5 separate regions of the Homo sapiens genome follow, and all the other regions are linked to region 5. Evidence: promoter capture Hi-C in human tissues and cell types (Jung and others, 2019). All regions are on one chromosome and are shown on one strand. Each heading gives the region's core, a stretch centred on a gene start or on the middle of the fragment in contact. The rest is flanking DNA. Distances are from core to core; before and after follow the strand shown. Region 1 has its middle 5.7 kb from the start of LINC00938. Region 2 overlaps PCED1B (PC-esterase domain containing 1B). Region 3 has its middle 61 kb from the start of SLC38A4. Region 4 overlaps ARID2 (AT-rich interaction domain 2). Region 5 holds the start of SLC38A1 (solute carrier family 38 member 1).

Region 1 (2,930 bases), core at 209-2,708, 550 kb after region 5:
ATAGGAATTAAGCTGAAATGTAAAATTGTGTAATAATTAGGTTTCATTAAAGTATATATAGTTTCCTTAATAACTACATGAGTCAGTAGTGTTGACTTAATAATAAGTTATTTAGCTTTTGCTTTTCTCTGAAAACATATCAAACTCTTCATATATAGCATCGAAATAGATATTCAACCTGAGCCACTGTAAATTGTTGAAGCTTATTGCTATACATTAAGGGAAATTCTATCCAACAGTTCAGTGTAAACAATTTTTTAAAGGTGCTATGATTCTTTAACATGATTTGTAGTATGTAGAACTCAAGTATTCTAGAATAATCTTTGCATGATAATGTATGAGAAACATTTATAAACAGTCCTTCAGGTGTACAAAATAACTGACATAATATTTTGCATTTAACTACACTGCCTCCAAGTATTTTAAACAAAGATGAAATTTTTAGAGTATTGTGCTATATTTTTATAACTGAATTTCCCTCTTATTAACAATACTCATAACATTTAGCCATTAATGATTACTGATAGCTTAAATAAGAGTGTAGTTTCTGTTTCTAATGTCTATTAATTTTAACCCCATTTAAAGATATTTCCTACTTATCATACTCAAAGTTAATCAGAAGTTAAATAAATGATGGTCCTTCTGGTTCTCTGGAAACTGAAAAGAAGCTTCTGTTTCTTTAGGGTATGCAGGAATTTTTTTTCTTCCCAGTGAGCTGAATCCATCCTTTACGCTGCTATTTGCTAACCTCAGTTGTTTTTCTGCTCCATTAAAGTTGAGGCCACCAAAAATAGTAGTAATATCACAACTACAAAACCCTGGGTGGATTTGTACCCATTGCACATACACTTCTTGCTGCCAATTCCTAAGAGACTTTTGAAATAATAGTATATTCCCAGCTGGACAATATATTCTACTTGTGGCCTATGTATAGTGTTCAACAAGTCCAGGAGCCCTATGAAACGGAATGTGTTTACTGCATTTTTCTAGGGAGAAGTTCTCAGCAGGCACGGGCATCTTAAAGACCCTGTGATGCCCAAAAGGTTAAAGCTCTATTTGCTAATGACAGATAGTAAGTTTGGAGGATTGCTTCAGGTGCAGCATTTTATTTTGTGGGTTGTTGGCCTGTAGGGAAAAACATTTTGAAATTGTAGTTAAGGAATACCACTTCAGTTCATCAAATTAAAAAAATTATGGCAAATAAGCAAAAATCTATTTCTAAAGAACTACATACAATATATTCTTACAGAAAATTTTAGATTAAATGCATGTAACTGTTTTTTTGGTTTGCCATGTATTGAAAATGGATGGATGGGGGATTACATTAGTTGATGTATTTATTTATTTATTTTTGAGGCGGAGTCTCACTCTGTTGCCCAGGCTGGGGTGCAGTAGCGCAGTCTCGGCTCGCAACCTCTGCACCCTAGGCTCAAGCAACACTCGCACCTCCACCTCCTGAATAGCTAGGACTACAGGTGCACGCACCATACCACACCTGGCTAATTTTTGTATTTTTTTATAGAGACAGGGGTCTTGCTATGCTGCCCAGGCTGGTCTTAAACTCCTGAGCTCAAGCAATCTGCATGCCCAAGCCATTGGCCCATCTTGGCCTTCTAAAGTGCTGGGATTACAGGCGTGAGTCACCATGGTCAGCCCATATTAATTTAAAGTAGGCTTCAAATATAATTATTCACTAATTGGGAATGCCTGGGGATGTATATGAATGTATTACCGTTTTGTGAGTAGTAGTGTGTGCTTGTGTTCATGGATGGCATTCATCAGAATGTTTGCAATGGTGTAGCCAGGTTACACTGCCATCTTCCTGTTCTCCTTTGTGCTTACTTGCTCTGCCTGTATTTGCTGCAGTTTCTAGCGAGTGTATGTAGGTGTTGGCCCAGAACTTGCTTTTGTAGAGATCATACATTGTGCTAATTTATCCCAAATCAGTTTTTGTGTATTATCTGTGGGCCCAATGTGTAATTTGAACTTTAAGGATACTACTTCAGACTGCAGTGTAGCATAACCTTTAAAAAAAAAAATGCTAGTTTTGCCCTAATCTGTGCATATTCCAGTTGTTCAATGGGTATTAGTAATACATGAATTACTTCTGTGCCCTTTTTGGTGTAGAGTCTCATATGAATAATTACTGTTATTTAAAACCCACGACTCCATGCATTGTTTTGGTGGGAGAGGGTAGTTTCCCATCATGTTTTACATATATGTTAGCATTCAGATTTTCCTTTTTAGCCCACTCCCTACTGAACTGAAGGGAAAGGGCGTATTTGAGAGAAAACATATGCTTTACTCAGGTTCCAATAATTAAGCCAATGCACTTGATTTAAGTTATACATTTAGCTCATTCTTAAAGTGTAATAAAGACTTTAAGCCTCCTGGCTCCCAAATCAGTGCTTTTTCTACTAAACATTCTTTCTGTCTTGCTAAAAAAATCCAATTTTCAGAATCAAGTTAGTTGCTAAGCAAATATGCATAAAACCATACATTTATCTGAATTGTTTCTAATTTAAGGAGTAGTATATAAAAGTTTCAACAGAAATCATTGATTAGTAAAAGTGATGGAAAATCAGCAAAATAAAAATAGAATTAGAGTAGGCTAAAAGGCCCTTCTTTAGGGTAATCGGAAAACTGAGTTCAAATATAGGGTCTGGGACTTCTCAGGTGATATTTTATCTTAAATTAGAATCTGCATGAGGTAGGGTGGGGCCACTCATGCCTATAATCTCAGCACTTTGAGAGGCCGAGGCAGGAGCGTCCCTTGAGACCAGGAGTTCGAGACCAGCCTGAGCAACATAGCAAGACCTTCTCTCTATTTTTAAAAAACTAAAATTGGATTTAAATAAAGAATCTGCATGAACTTTCTTGTCACTTATTCTTACATATTATTTGCCAGTGTGCGATACTTAATAACCAAG
Region 2 (2,931 bases), core at 1-2,500, 820 kb before region 5:
AATTCTGTAATAAATCAAGGATATATATTGCAATCTCTAGGATAGTTACTATTAGAATTAAAGAAGTAAAACTTGCAAGTTTTTAGAATGAAATCCTTGAATAATTAAAAAAATAGAGGAAAGAGAGGGCGAAAAAAAGAACATAAAATGACAACAAAAGGAATATAAAAGAAAAGAGCACAATAGAAAATGAAAAATAAGATGGTAGCTATAAGCCCAATGATGTCAGTGATTACACTGAATGTAAATAAGCTAAATTTGAAGTAAAATACTGTCAGATTAGATAAAAAACAAACCCAAATCTTCAAATCTAATAAAAAGAAATGTTTAATGTGAAAGGAAAGCCAAATATACCATGCAAACACAAACCTGCCCCTGCTCCTAAAGCTGTCTAGCTATACTAATATCAGACAATGTGAACTGTAAGGCAAGAAACATTATTAGAGATAAAGTGAGACAGTTCATAATTATAAATAAATAAGTCCAATAGGAAATGAGCACAATCCTAAATCTCTGTGCACCTAATAATATAGCTTCAAAATAAACTAAACAAAAATGGACAGAACAATGAGAAAAAAATGTACAAATCAGCACTCACAGTGGGAGGCATTAGTGCATCTCTTTCAAACACATAGCAGAAAAAGTGAAAAATAAAAAAATCAGTAAGGATATAGAAGATATAAACAGCACAGTTAACATATGTAATCTAATGTCATGTATGCAAAATGGTACCTAATGACCACTTCATATTCACTTCAAGTATACAAAGAACATAAGAACATTTATTACAATCAATATATCATAACAAGAAAAAAGTCTCAACAATTTCAAAATATTGACATCTTTCAGAATGTCTTCTCTGACCACAGTGGAAGTTAAGCTAAAGATCAATAACAACAACAGGAAAAACCCAAGTGCTCAAAATTAAACAATATACTCTAAATAATCCATGGGATAAAGAAAAAAAACAGAAATTAGTTCTTAAACTTAAATAATAAAAATCACATTTGAAAAATCATGTGAAAAAACTAAAATGGTGCTTAGAAGGAAATATATAGTCTTATATTCCATATTAGAAAGGAAAAAGCCTGAAAATCAATGATTTAAGTGTTAATTTCAAGAAAGTAGAGAGAGAGCAGGAATCAAACTTACAAAAAGAAATGATAAAGATAAAAGCAAAAACCAAGGAACATATAAGAAAGACAATAAAGCCAAAGTCAGTTGTTTAAAAACATCAAAATCTAAAGAAGACTGATCAAAAGAAAAAAAAATAGACAAAACAAATTCGCAACAACAGCAATGAAAAAGGAGATATCACTATAGATCATACAAGCATCAAAAGGACAATAAAAGGAAACTTAAAACAAATTTATGCTGATAAATTTGACAATTTGGATGAAATAAACAAACTCTTTGAAAATACAATTTACCAAGACTGACAGGAGAAGAGATGAAAATATCAATAATTTAGGATGTATTTTTTTTTAAAATTAAGCCCATTATTTTAAAAAAGAAAAGCCTGGGCTCAGATAGTTTATCAGTGAATTCTTCCAAACACTTAAGGAAAAATTAACAGCTGTCTTGTATAATTCTTCCAGAACACAGAAAGAGAAGGTGAGCTTTCCAGACTTAAAAAAAATTGTAATAGCATAAACTTGATTTTTAAACCCTGACAAGATTGTGAGAAAGAAAACTGCAAGCCCATCTTTCTCATAAACATTACTTAAAAATTCTTAACAAAATATTAGGAAGCCAAATCCATTGATACAGTAAATGGAGTGCAAGTTCAGTCCAAGTGTACAAGTGTGGCTTACCATTCAAAAATCATAAACATAATTCACCACATTAACAGAAAAAGGAGTAAAATCATACAATCATCTCAAATGCAGAAAAAGCATTTGATAAATTCAACATCCATTTGTGATGAAAACACGTAATCAATTAAGAACAGAACTTTCTTAATCTCATAAAGAATATCTACAAAATATCCGTAGCAAACATCATTCTCAATGGTAGTATGTTGAAAACTTCCCCCTAAGACTGGAACTGGGTCAAGAATGACCACTGTCATCATTTCAGTCTAACATTGTAGAAGGAGGTCTAGCCAATGCAAAAGGTCAGAGAAAGAAATAAATGTCATGGAGATTGGAAAGCAAGAAATAAAATTGTCATTTCCAGACAATAAGATCATGCACATTCAAAATTTCTAGAGAATCTAAGGACAAATTCTTAGAATTAATAAGAGAATATAGGAAGGGAACCGGATATACAGTCAACATATAAAAACTAGTTGCATTTGTATATATTGGCAATAAACAAATAGAAAATAAAACATATTTACAATAGCATCAAAAAACTCAAACACCTAGAAATAAATCTAATTAAAGATGTGCAAGATCTCTAACTGAAAACTAAAATATTATTGAGAAAAATTAAAGGAGAGCTAAATAAATGGAAGTATATGCATCATTATAATTGGAAGACTCAATATTGTAAAGATGTTAGTTCTCTCCAAATTAATACATTCATCTATGCAATTTTGGTCAAAATCTAAGCTACAGGTTCTTCTTTTTCCAGAAATTGACAAGTTTTCCTAAAATTCATATCAAATGTAAAAGTTGGAAATCATCAAGTTATTCTTGAAGAATAAATATACAGGACTTACACTGTGAGATATCAGAAACTATTATTATAAAGTTATGACAATCAAAACTGTGTGGTACTAGTGCAAGAACAGATAACTGTCCAATGAAACACAACAGGGAATCCAGAAGTAGACCTGCACATATATGGTGGCATGATTTATGATAAAGGTGATCCTGCAATGCAGTAGGGAAAAGGATAATCTTTCAGATAAATTGTGCTGTGTCAATTCAACATTCAAGTGGAAAAAAAGGTATTCTAATGTTTATTTCACATTACACACAAGAG
Region 3 (2,867 bases), core at 225-2,724, 620 kb before region 5:
TGACATGGCACATCTATTTTCATCAGATTTTTCCAGCTCTACTTATAGTCATTTGCATGTGTGTATGTGTGAGTGTGTATACTTGTGAATATATGTGTGAGTGTATTAAGTGCTATACAGGCTTATCACCTGTGGTTTCACATACCCACCACCAGTCAACTTTCAATACTGCAAGAATCCTTCGGTTTGTCCACTTACAAGTATACCTACCTCCCTCCTGCACAGCCCCCACCTTCTTCATCCCTAACTCCTGGCAACAACTAATCTGTTTTTCATTTCAAGAACTTTGTCATTTCAAAAATGTCACATAAATGGAATCATACAGTATGCAACCTTTTGGGACTGGCTTTTTCAGTCAGCATTATTCCCTAGAGATGGATCCAAGCTGTGTACATCAATAGTTTGCTCCTTTTTATTGTGGAGAAGTATTCTGTGGTATGTACCACAGTTTGTTCAACCATTCCTGTTGAAGGGCATCTAGATTTATTTTGATTTTTGGCTTATAAATAATGTTGCTGTGAACATTCCTGTACAGTTTTTTTTTTTTTTGGTGTGTGAATGTATGTTTTCATTTCTCTGGGGGTAAATATCCAAGAATGCAATTACTAAGTGTTATGTAGTTGCATATTTAGCTTTATAAGAAACTACCAAGCTGTTTTTCAGAGTAGCTCTACCATTTACATTCCACAGTAAAGTATGGATGATCCAGTTTCTCCATGTCCTTACCAGCATTTGGTGTTGTTACTCTTTTAGCCATTCTGATAGGTATGTAGTGATATCTCCTTGTGGGCTTAATTTATGTTTCCTTGACGGATAAAGATATTGAACATCTTTTCATGTGCATATTTGCCATCTATAATCCTCCTCTGTGAAATAGCTGTTCACATCTTTTGTCCATTTTCTAATTGAATTTTTTTTGTTGTTTTTACTGTTAAGTTTTGAGAGTTTATTATATATTCCACATACTGATCCTTTGTTGGGTATGAGGTTTGCAAATATTTTCTCACACTCCATAGCTTGTCTTTTCATCCCCTGCACATGAACTTTCACAGAGCAAAATCCTATTTGTCAAGTTTTTTCTTTTATTAACAAAATTATTCATAGTGACTTTTCAGTGTAAATATAATGTAAATAACACCATGAGCTTTTAGAACACCTTTATAGAGTGGTCTTTTAAAACACAAATCTAATTATGTTGCTTTCCTATCTCAAACTTTTCAATGGTTTCCCCCTGCCCTTAGGAAAAGCTTAGGTAGAAATCCATAACATGGATGAGCCTTCCACTACAGCTGCTGCTCCTCCTTGTGCCCTCTGCACTTCAGCCAGATGGGAACATCTCTCTTCAATCCTGGGACCATTTTCTTCTATCCATTTCTCCCTGTACAGATTCTTTCAGATTTAGCTGCTTTGCTATGGTTCTCCTGTGTATTCCATAGCACTGACATCTACACTCTGGAAGCATTTGCTGCAGGCAATTGCAAGTGCCCATTTTTCTGCCTCCCCCATTCTCTAAGCTCCTTGAAGTCAATAACTATTCATTTCCATCATTCCATTGCTGTCAAAATGCCCAACACACAGGAAGCCCAGACCTAAGTGACTAACTCTGGAGATGTGCAGCCCTCCTCACAGCACCACAAGAAAAGAAAACAAAATCTAAAGAAAATATTAGCTCCCAAACTGACATCATCCACACCCTCTCTGATCAACCTTCAAAACATTCTGTAACTATAAAGTGGCCTTTATTATTGAGCCCTTGTGTGGCATCGTATTTTAGCAAAGTTTTGTACAATTAGCTCATCAATTGTTTCTCAAAACCCTTGGTGAGAAATGTTTACCCTCTCTTAGAGATGAGGGAATCGAGCCCAGATAGACCAGAAAACCACATCTAAAGTCCTATGGCAAATCATTAGCCCTCACCACACAGTGGTTTTGTCTCCTTGGCTTTGACTGGGATGTGCAATTGCTCACAGCATTGTAGAAATCCACAAAGCCTGGGGAACACACAGAAGGGGTTATTCAATTCAACATTCTCTTTTGGACCATTCAGAAAAGTCAAATGTTGATCATTTTAAATGTCTGTTGAATGTATGAATTGAACAAATACATTTTTATTTTTCTTTCTGTGAAACTAATCATTCCTGTTTAAAAAGGTACGCTCTTTATGAGTCCTGCTTATCTCTAGCTTACTGGATAGTTTCTGGTTTATGGAATAGACTCTAAAAAATTAGTAGAATCATTTATACAGCTTCTATAATATTGTAAGCAGAAAAATATCTTCACAAATGTCACTAGTTATTTCCTTTAATTTTTGCACAAGTTGATCTGTATATCTTCTTCATTAGCTGAGAGGTATTAAACATGACCATTGCAATCCACTCACACTGTCAGATCAACTTGAGCTCTCTGTACCAGGCCCTTACAAAAGGAAGAAGGGCCTACTGAAAGGGAACAGTGAACAATAAAGAAAACTTAGAAAGAAGACCAAGCAGCTACCATCTCCCCTACCTAACCTCCTTTTTAACTCTAAGGTAGTATATTCTCAGAATCCACAGTCTCCCTTGACATGGCTGTGGCTGGGACAACTGTAGGATTAGAGCATCTTCTTGCAACAAGGCTTGACTGATGCTAAATCTTCACTCCTGCCCTTTTGTCCAGAGAGAGGTGAACAGGGAATAAGGCAGCCTCAAAGCATCATCTGAAGCAGCAAGCTAGATCCAACGGCAACCCCAACCTGTCCAGGGCTCAGGTCTCACCGCATATGCATTCATCAGAGTAGGACCTCCTCATTAGTGGTGTATCTGCCCCAGGACTATTGCATTAGGAGCAGAAGTTTACTTCCCATAGGATTATTTTCTCGTAAACCCACC
Region 4 (2,917 bases), core at 267-2,766, 520 kb after region 5:
TTCTTTTGTAGAGACAGGGTCTCACTACGTCTCAAACTCACTAGGCAGCTTGAGACTGCCTAGGTTGTCTCAAACTCCTGGCCTCAAGCAATCCTCCTGCCTCAGCCTCACAAAGTGCTGGGCCTACAGGCGTTGAGCCACCACACCTGGCCGTACATTGTTATTTGAGACATAATGCTACTGAACAATTAATATACTACAGTATAATATAAACATAACTTGTCTGTGCACTGGGAAACCAAAAAATTCACTCTCATTTTACTATCATATATATTAATGTGGTGGTCTGGAATCAAACCCACAGCATCTCTCAGGCATGTCTGTATTACTCTCTCAAATCTTACCCTACACAAGACTCTCTAGTCTCATATTGTAGCTTGTGAAGACAGATAGGGAGACATTAGTGTCTATTTTACTTAAAAACAACTTCAAGTACTGCATAGAATTGCACAAAATGACACATTTACCACAATGTTAATTAATATTCTACAACTACAACTGACTCTTGATGCTTGTTTAATAAAACCACACAAAAAAATGTTAAGCTTTAGGGACAGACGAATGAAATGCTATACTATTAATTCTGTAAGTTAGAAATTTTCAATTCTTTCAGAATTTCCCAAATTAGATTTCCCACTTGCTGAGAGGCCTACCATACCCACCTGAGTTCATAAGAAGCTCCCCAAGTGACAGGAGATCCTAATTCAGTTCAGCTACAATGTATCAGATGCCAAAAAGTGCATTGCCATTAAAAAAAAAAAATCCTTGACCCCAAGACTCTGATAGTAAACTAGGAGCAGTACACTATAACTCACAAAACTAAACTCTAATTCTGCACTAGCAATGGTACTTACAGGCTTTTTCCCTGATCTACAAGAGGATAATACCTATTTCCTAGAGTTGTTGCAAAAATCCACTGAGATAAATATTTGTAAAAATAAACTATAAACTGTACAGCAACACACACGTTATTACAAAAAGATACATTAAAGAATTTTTTAAATAAAAATAAAAAGCCACAATCCCACAACTACCCTAACCATTTTCATATTTTTATTCCCTTGAAGTCCTTATCTTCAAATACTTTTTAATAAAATTATATTCATGTGAATTGGGGGAAGACAGTATAATATGCCTAGATTCCAGGTTTAAATACTAGGTCCAGCCGGGCACGGTGGCTCACGCCTGTAATCCCAACACTTTGGGAGGCTGAGGCGGGCGGATCACAAGGTCAGGAGTTCGAGAACATCCTGGCTAACACGGTGAAACCCCATCTCTACCTAAAATACAAAGAAAAATTAGCTGGGCATGGTGGCGAGCGCCTGTAGTCCCAGCTACTCGGGAGGCTGAGGCAGGAGAATGGCGTGAACCCGGAAGGCGGAGCTTGCAGTGAGCCTCGATCGCGCCACTGCACTCCAGCCTGGGTGACAGAGCGAGACTCCGTCTCAAAAAAAAAATACTAGATCCAGAACTTACTGTGTGAACCTGGGCAAGGTTCTTAAACACCTTTGTCCTGTTTTCTCATCTATAATACCAGGATATTAACAGTATCTATGTCATAGGGAGGTGTGAAGAGAAAATGAGTTACCACTTGGTGCAGTGCCCGGCACATGGCAAATTAAATAAATGTTAGCTAAAAAAATATAAACTTAATAGTCTGCTTTTTAAAAGATTCAACATGGTATCATAAACCAAAAGTATACTATTAAAGTTTCATAAGAAAAATACTTAAAAAAAAAACTTTAGCATATGTTACATTGACTGTTTTTAAAACATATCTCCCTACCATCCCTTTGTCTAGATATTTACAGTAATAGAATCAGGCTGGGTGGGTGGCTCAGGTCTGCAATCCCAACACTTTGGGAGGCCAAGCCAGGAGGATCACTTGAGGCCAGGAGTTGGAAACCATCCTGGGCAACACAGAAAGCCCTGGTCTCTACAAAATCTTTACACATCAGCCAGGTATGGTGGCACACACCTGTAGTCCTAGTTACTAGGGAGGCTGAAGTAGGAGGATCTCTTAAGCCAAGAAGGTTGAGGCTGCAGTGAACCATGATTGCACCACTACTCTTCATTCTCCAGCCTGGGTGGCAGAGCAAGATCCTGTCTCCAAAGGAAAAAAAAAAAAAAATCAAACCAGAATCTATCTATTACTTCATACTTCCAGTAGAGGTCTCCATCTAAAAAATTATGTACTAGACTAACCTTTAAATGAGTATCCTTGGTTATTTAAAAAAAAAAACAACTATCAAATATATAAGCTTTATCAAATATGTAAGTTTAGGTTTTTACGAGTAAAATATTTAATATAAAGAATATTTGCAGTAAAAAGTGTTTTTTCTCTCTTAGTATAAGTCAGCAGAATCATCTTAACATAAAACCAGGCCAGGCGCAGTGGCTCATGCCTGTAATCCCAGCACTTTGGGAGGCCAAGGCGGGCAGATCACTTGAGGCCAGGAGTTCGAGAACAGCCTGGCCAAATGACGAAACCCTGTCTCTACTAAACGTACAAAAAAATTAGCCAGGCATGTTGTTGTGTGCCTGTAGTCCCACCTACTCAGGAGACTGAAACATGAGAATCACTTGAACCCAGGAGGTGGAGGTTGCAGTGAGCCGAGATTGCGCCACTGCATTCTAGCCTGGGTGACATAGTGAGACTTTGTCTCAAAAATAATAATAATAAATAAAGGCCCCGTTTTATATAGCAAAGAAATCTCTGATAGTCTTCTAAAATTATTCCTTTTAAAACAGAATGGAGTGGTTAGTGTAATAAATGCAGATCTGATTTGGTTTCTACTTTTCCCTTCCATCATTCAGTAGTAATAATCTTAGGCAAGTCAATTATCCCCACGCAGGCCTACCTGGAAAAGTATCCTTATTTCTACCCTTCCAGAAAGCAGAGGGCTAGACCATCTTC
Region 5 (2,829 bases), core at 1-2,500:
TATCATCTTGCTTTTCCAGTGGTGATGAAAAAGCAAAATTCACCCAAATACAATGACTACTGTCTACTTGAAACGCTCCAGGTAGTTAATTTTTGAATTATGATTCACCTTCCCTTTCCTGTTTTGATGAACCATGAACAGGAGACTGAACCTTCCCTATCAATAAAAAGCTCGCGTTTCCACCCTGCAAATTCGCGCTATGACAGTCTAATTGGCTGAGGCGCAGGTGGGATTTCCTGTCGCCATTTTAAGACACAACTCCTCTGCAAGCAAGTGCCCAGCCAGTGAAAGGGGGCTGTGTCTGAAACAAAGAGTAAGCGGGAAAAAAGGGAACCAGGCCCAGTTGCCCCTGCTCCCCTCCATGCCGCTCCCTCGTCCCCCGGACTTGGAGCGCCCCAGCTCCGTTAACCTGGACGCACCAGGTCCTTCGGTCGGGACCACGTGGGGTCTCCAGGCCCTCCAAGAGCTGGCCCCCGGCTCTTTGCGCCTAGGCCGGTGCTTTCTCGGTGCTCAGCAAATCCTTCTGGTTCACCTCACACCCAGTCCCCAAAGCAGAGCTCCACAGGGCAGATCTCAGGAAGGGCTGACCAGGTCTGCGGGTGCTGGATCCGGAAGAGGGGAGGTGCCTCCCGCTTCAGGTTAGGGACAAAGGGTTTTTAAAGGTGCCCGAGCTCCCCGCCGCCCCTGCCACTTCGGTCCCCTTCCCGCCAACCCGGGCCATCTGCAGGCTGTGCCCAGGGCCAGCCCTCCGCTCCAACGCTGCCCGTAGTCCCAGGCGCTGCCCGCGGCTCTCCGGGCTGCGCTCGGACCTGCCACTCCCGCGGCCATCCTCATGCTGCGCCCTTCCCACAATGCAACTCCCTCGCTCCTTCGGCCCCGGCGGGGCTCTGGCGTACCCAAAATGCAGGCCCCAGCGGAACGCACAGCCCTCCTGTCCTCCGCCGGTGCCCCTTTAGCCGCCCCACCCCCATCCCTAAGGGCTCTCATTCTCCAGCTGCAGCCGCAGCTGGGTTCCGAACACGCCGCCGGGCCCCGGGAGGGAGAGGGGCAGGTGCCAGGGCGGCGCGCAGCCTCTGCTCCCGGTGCCAGCTTCAGTGCGCCGGGCACACGCGCGCCCCGCAACCCCTCCCTCACCCTTTCCCCGTTGCTCAATCTCCGCCAGCCGCGGTCGCTGCATCGTCAGAGAGCTGCAAGAGGGAGGCAGCAAGGTGCGGCCGCCAGCAGTGACACCATGTGACCGGCACGGCTCACTGACACGCAGCTTTGGTTAAAGAGCGGGCGCACAGGAGGGGAGGAGACCGCGCGCGGGACGGGGAGGAATGGCCTGTCCGCGTTAAACCATCACAAGCCATGGTTGCGGAAGGGCCACGCGTCCCCCAGTAGGAGAATGACTCCGATTCGTGACCCTCAGCGCCGGTGCATGTCGATGTAAGTGCGAGGCCGGCGAGCAGAGTGTGAGTGGGGGTTGGTGGTGAGGGGAGATTCTGATGCAATCGGCCCGGAAAGGAGGAGAGCCAGGCGAGCGCGGACTGGGGCGGCCACGCCACTCCGCCAGAAGGTCGCCAGGAGCCTCCGCCCTTCACCTTCCTCCGAAATCCGCCAGGCCACGCCAAGCTCCCTGCCCAACCCTTACTGACGGGGGCCACATTTTCCCGGCCTCCGCAGCCAGACCTTGACACAAAGGACATCAAACTGCCGAGGGTAAAAACCCCGGAAGGGCGGACACCTCCACATCGCCTTTTGCCACCTTTCCCTTTATTTCCGGAGGTAAGGTGATTATCCGTTCCCGGGGAGGGCTGGGCGAGCGGCAAGGGGAGATTTAGATGTCGGAGGAGGAGGTAACGTAGAAATCATCTCTGCGGGCGTGAAAGCAGAGAGAGCTCGGCTGTGCCCGATGCTTTCGGATGTTGCTTTTAGGAGAGGAAAAGTCCAGGTCTCCTGTGCTTCCCGAACGCACGCGGCAGCGGGAGGAAGCGCCAGGGCCCCCGAGTTCACCTTTGCGTGGGCTGTGGCTTACTTTTTGGTTTGTTTTCCTGTGACTTTGGTGTGTTTTCCTGTGGCTGTGGCAGAGTGTGGTACCAGATCTGGTTCCATTTTTACGAGAGCCAGGAACCACGCACGTCTGGAGGGAGAGCGCAGCTGACCCGAGGGCGCGACCGTGTTCTGGGAGTGTTTGAATCCCCGGCCTTTGGTGAAAATTTCCTGTGTCCGCAAGGCCCAGAGGAGATCGTGTGATGTCCGGGGGGTGCTGCGTGCGGCCGGCTGGGTAGCGGCCGCGGACCACCACTAAACCGGGGCATGTTTGCCGTCCTTCCTGGTGCTCTGCCCCTCTGTAACGCGGGGAAGTAGGAGGGCGCGGGGAGAAATTACTAAAGGATGCTTGCAGTGACTCACTGTCCTTTCCTGCCCTGAAGAGGATTTTCTAAAATGCAGAGGGTGGCAGGGGACAGAGGTAGTGTTTTTTCGAGAGCCGGGATGTGCTGGAGCCAGCGAACAAAAGGCCACCTCTTGCGCGGTCTTGGGCGCAGACTGCTCTCGCTTCCAGTCCCACCTCCTCCCCAACCCCCGGCACCTAGTTCGCGTCCCTAAACGTTGCCGCAGAGGCCTTTAAACGCGTGGGTCGGTGCCGGGAGGAGAGCGCATCTTCGCCCTTGTGCGAGCCCCTTGCCCCCTAAATTATCCACCTCCTGGCGCATGGGGCTCCCCAGCACCCACTGGGACCCAGTAGGTTACCCGGCTGCCTGGGCACCGTTTGCCTGCCAAATCGCCCGCCTGAGGTTTGTGCTGAACTGTAGTTAGAGAAGGCACAAGTGCATATGGCAGCAAAAG

What was found. The method cuts DNA at HindIII sites, captures the fragments that hold promoters and counts their contacts. A contact is called where the count stands out against the background at its distance.
Region 1: a contact is called between a fragment that was not itself captured here and the fragment with the promoter of SLC38A1 in region 5, in 1 of the 25 tissues and cell types used here (lymphoblastoid cells).
Region 2: a fragment that was not itself captured here is called in contact with the fragment with the promoter of SLC38A1 in region 5 in 1 of the 25 tissues and cell types used here (IMR-90 fibroblasts).
Region 3: a contact is called between a fragment that was not itself captured here and the fragment with the promoter of SLC38A1 in region 5, in 1 of the 25 tissues and cell types used here (mesenchymal stem cells).
Region 4: a fragment that was not itself captured here is called in contact with the fragment with the promoter of SLC38A1 in region 5 in 1 of the 25 tissues and cell types used here (hippocampus).

Annotation. Positions count from the first base shown.
Region 1 is chr12:45,720,750-45,723,679 of GRCh38, reverse strand. No RefSeq gene overlaps it. Among named protein-coding and RNA genes, the nearest start is that of LINC00938, 5.7 kb to the left of the region's middle. The HindIII fragment of the contact is 3,962 bases long and covers 1-2,930 here.
Region 2 is chr12:47,091,709-47,094,639 of GRCh38, reverse strand. All of the region lies in intron 1 of PCED1B (PC-esterase domain containing 1B), which reads right to left. Among named protein-coding and RNA genes, the nearest start is that of AMIGO2, 13 kb to the right of the region's middle. The HindIII fragment of the contact is 8,493 bases long and covers 1-2,931 here.
Region 3 is chr12:46,885,662-46,888,528 of GRCh38, reverse strand. No RefSeq gene overlaps it. Among named protein-coding and RNA genes, the nearest start is that of SLC38A4, 61 kb to the right of the region's middle. The HindIII fragment of the contact is 6,813 bases long and covers 1-2,867 here.
Region 4 is chr12:45,745,315-45,748,231 of GRCh38, reverse strand. All of the region lies in intron 3 of ARID2 (AT-rich interaction domain 2), which reads right to left. Among named protein-coding and RNA genes, the nearest start is that of ARID2, 17 kb to the right of the region's middle. The HindIII fragment of the contact is 3,797 bases long and covers 1-2,917 here.
Region 5 is chr12:46,267,464-46,270,292 of GRCh38, reverse strand. SLC38A1 (solute carrier family 38 member 1) reads left to right here and starts at 1,250. Exons shown (of 17, transcript NM_030674.4): 1 at 1,250-1,767. LOC105378248 (a long non-coding RNA gene) reads right to left here and starts at 1,222. Exons shown (of 2, transcript XR_001749101.1): 1 at 1,135-1,222. RefSeq lists silencers at 701-800, 881-1,060 and enhancers at 1,471-1,570, 1,621-1,670, 810-1,792, 1,791-1,850, 2,776-2,829. The HindIII fragment of the contact is 6,474 bases long and covers 1-2,829 here.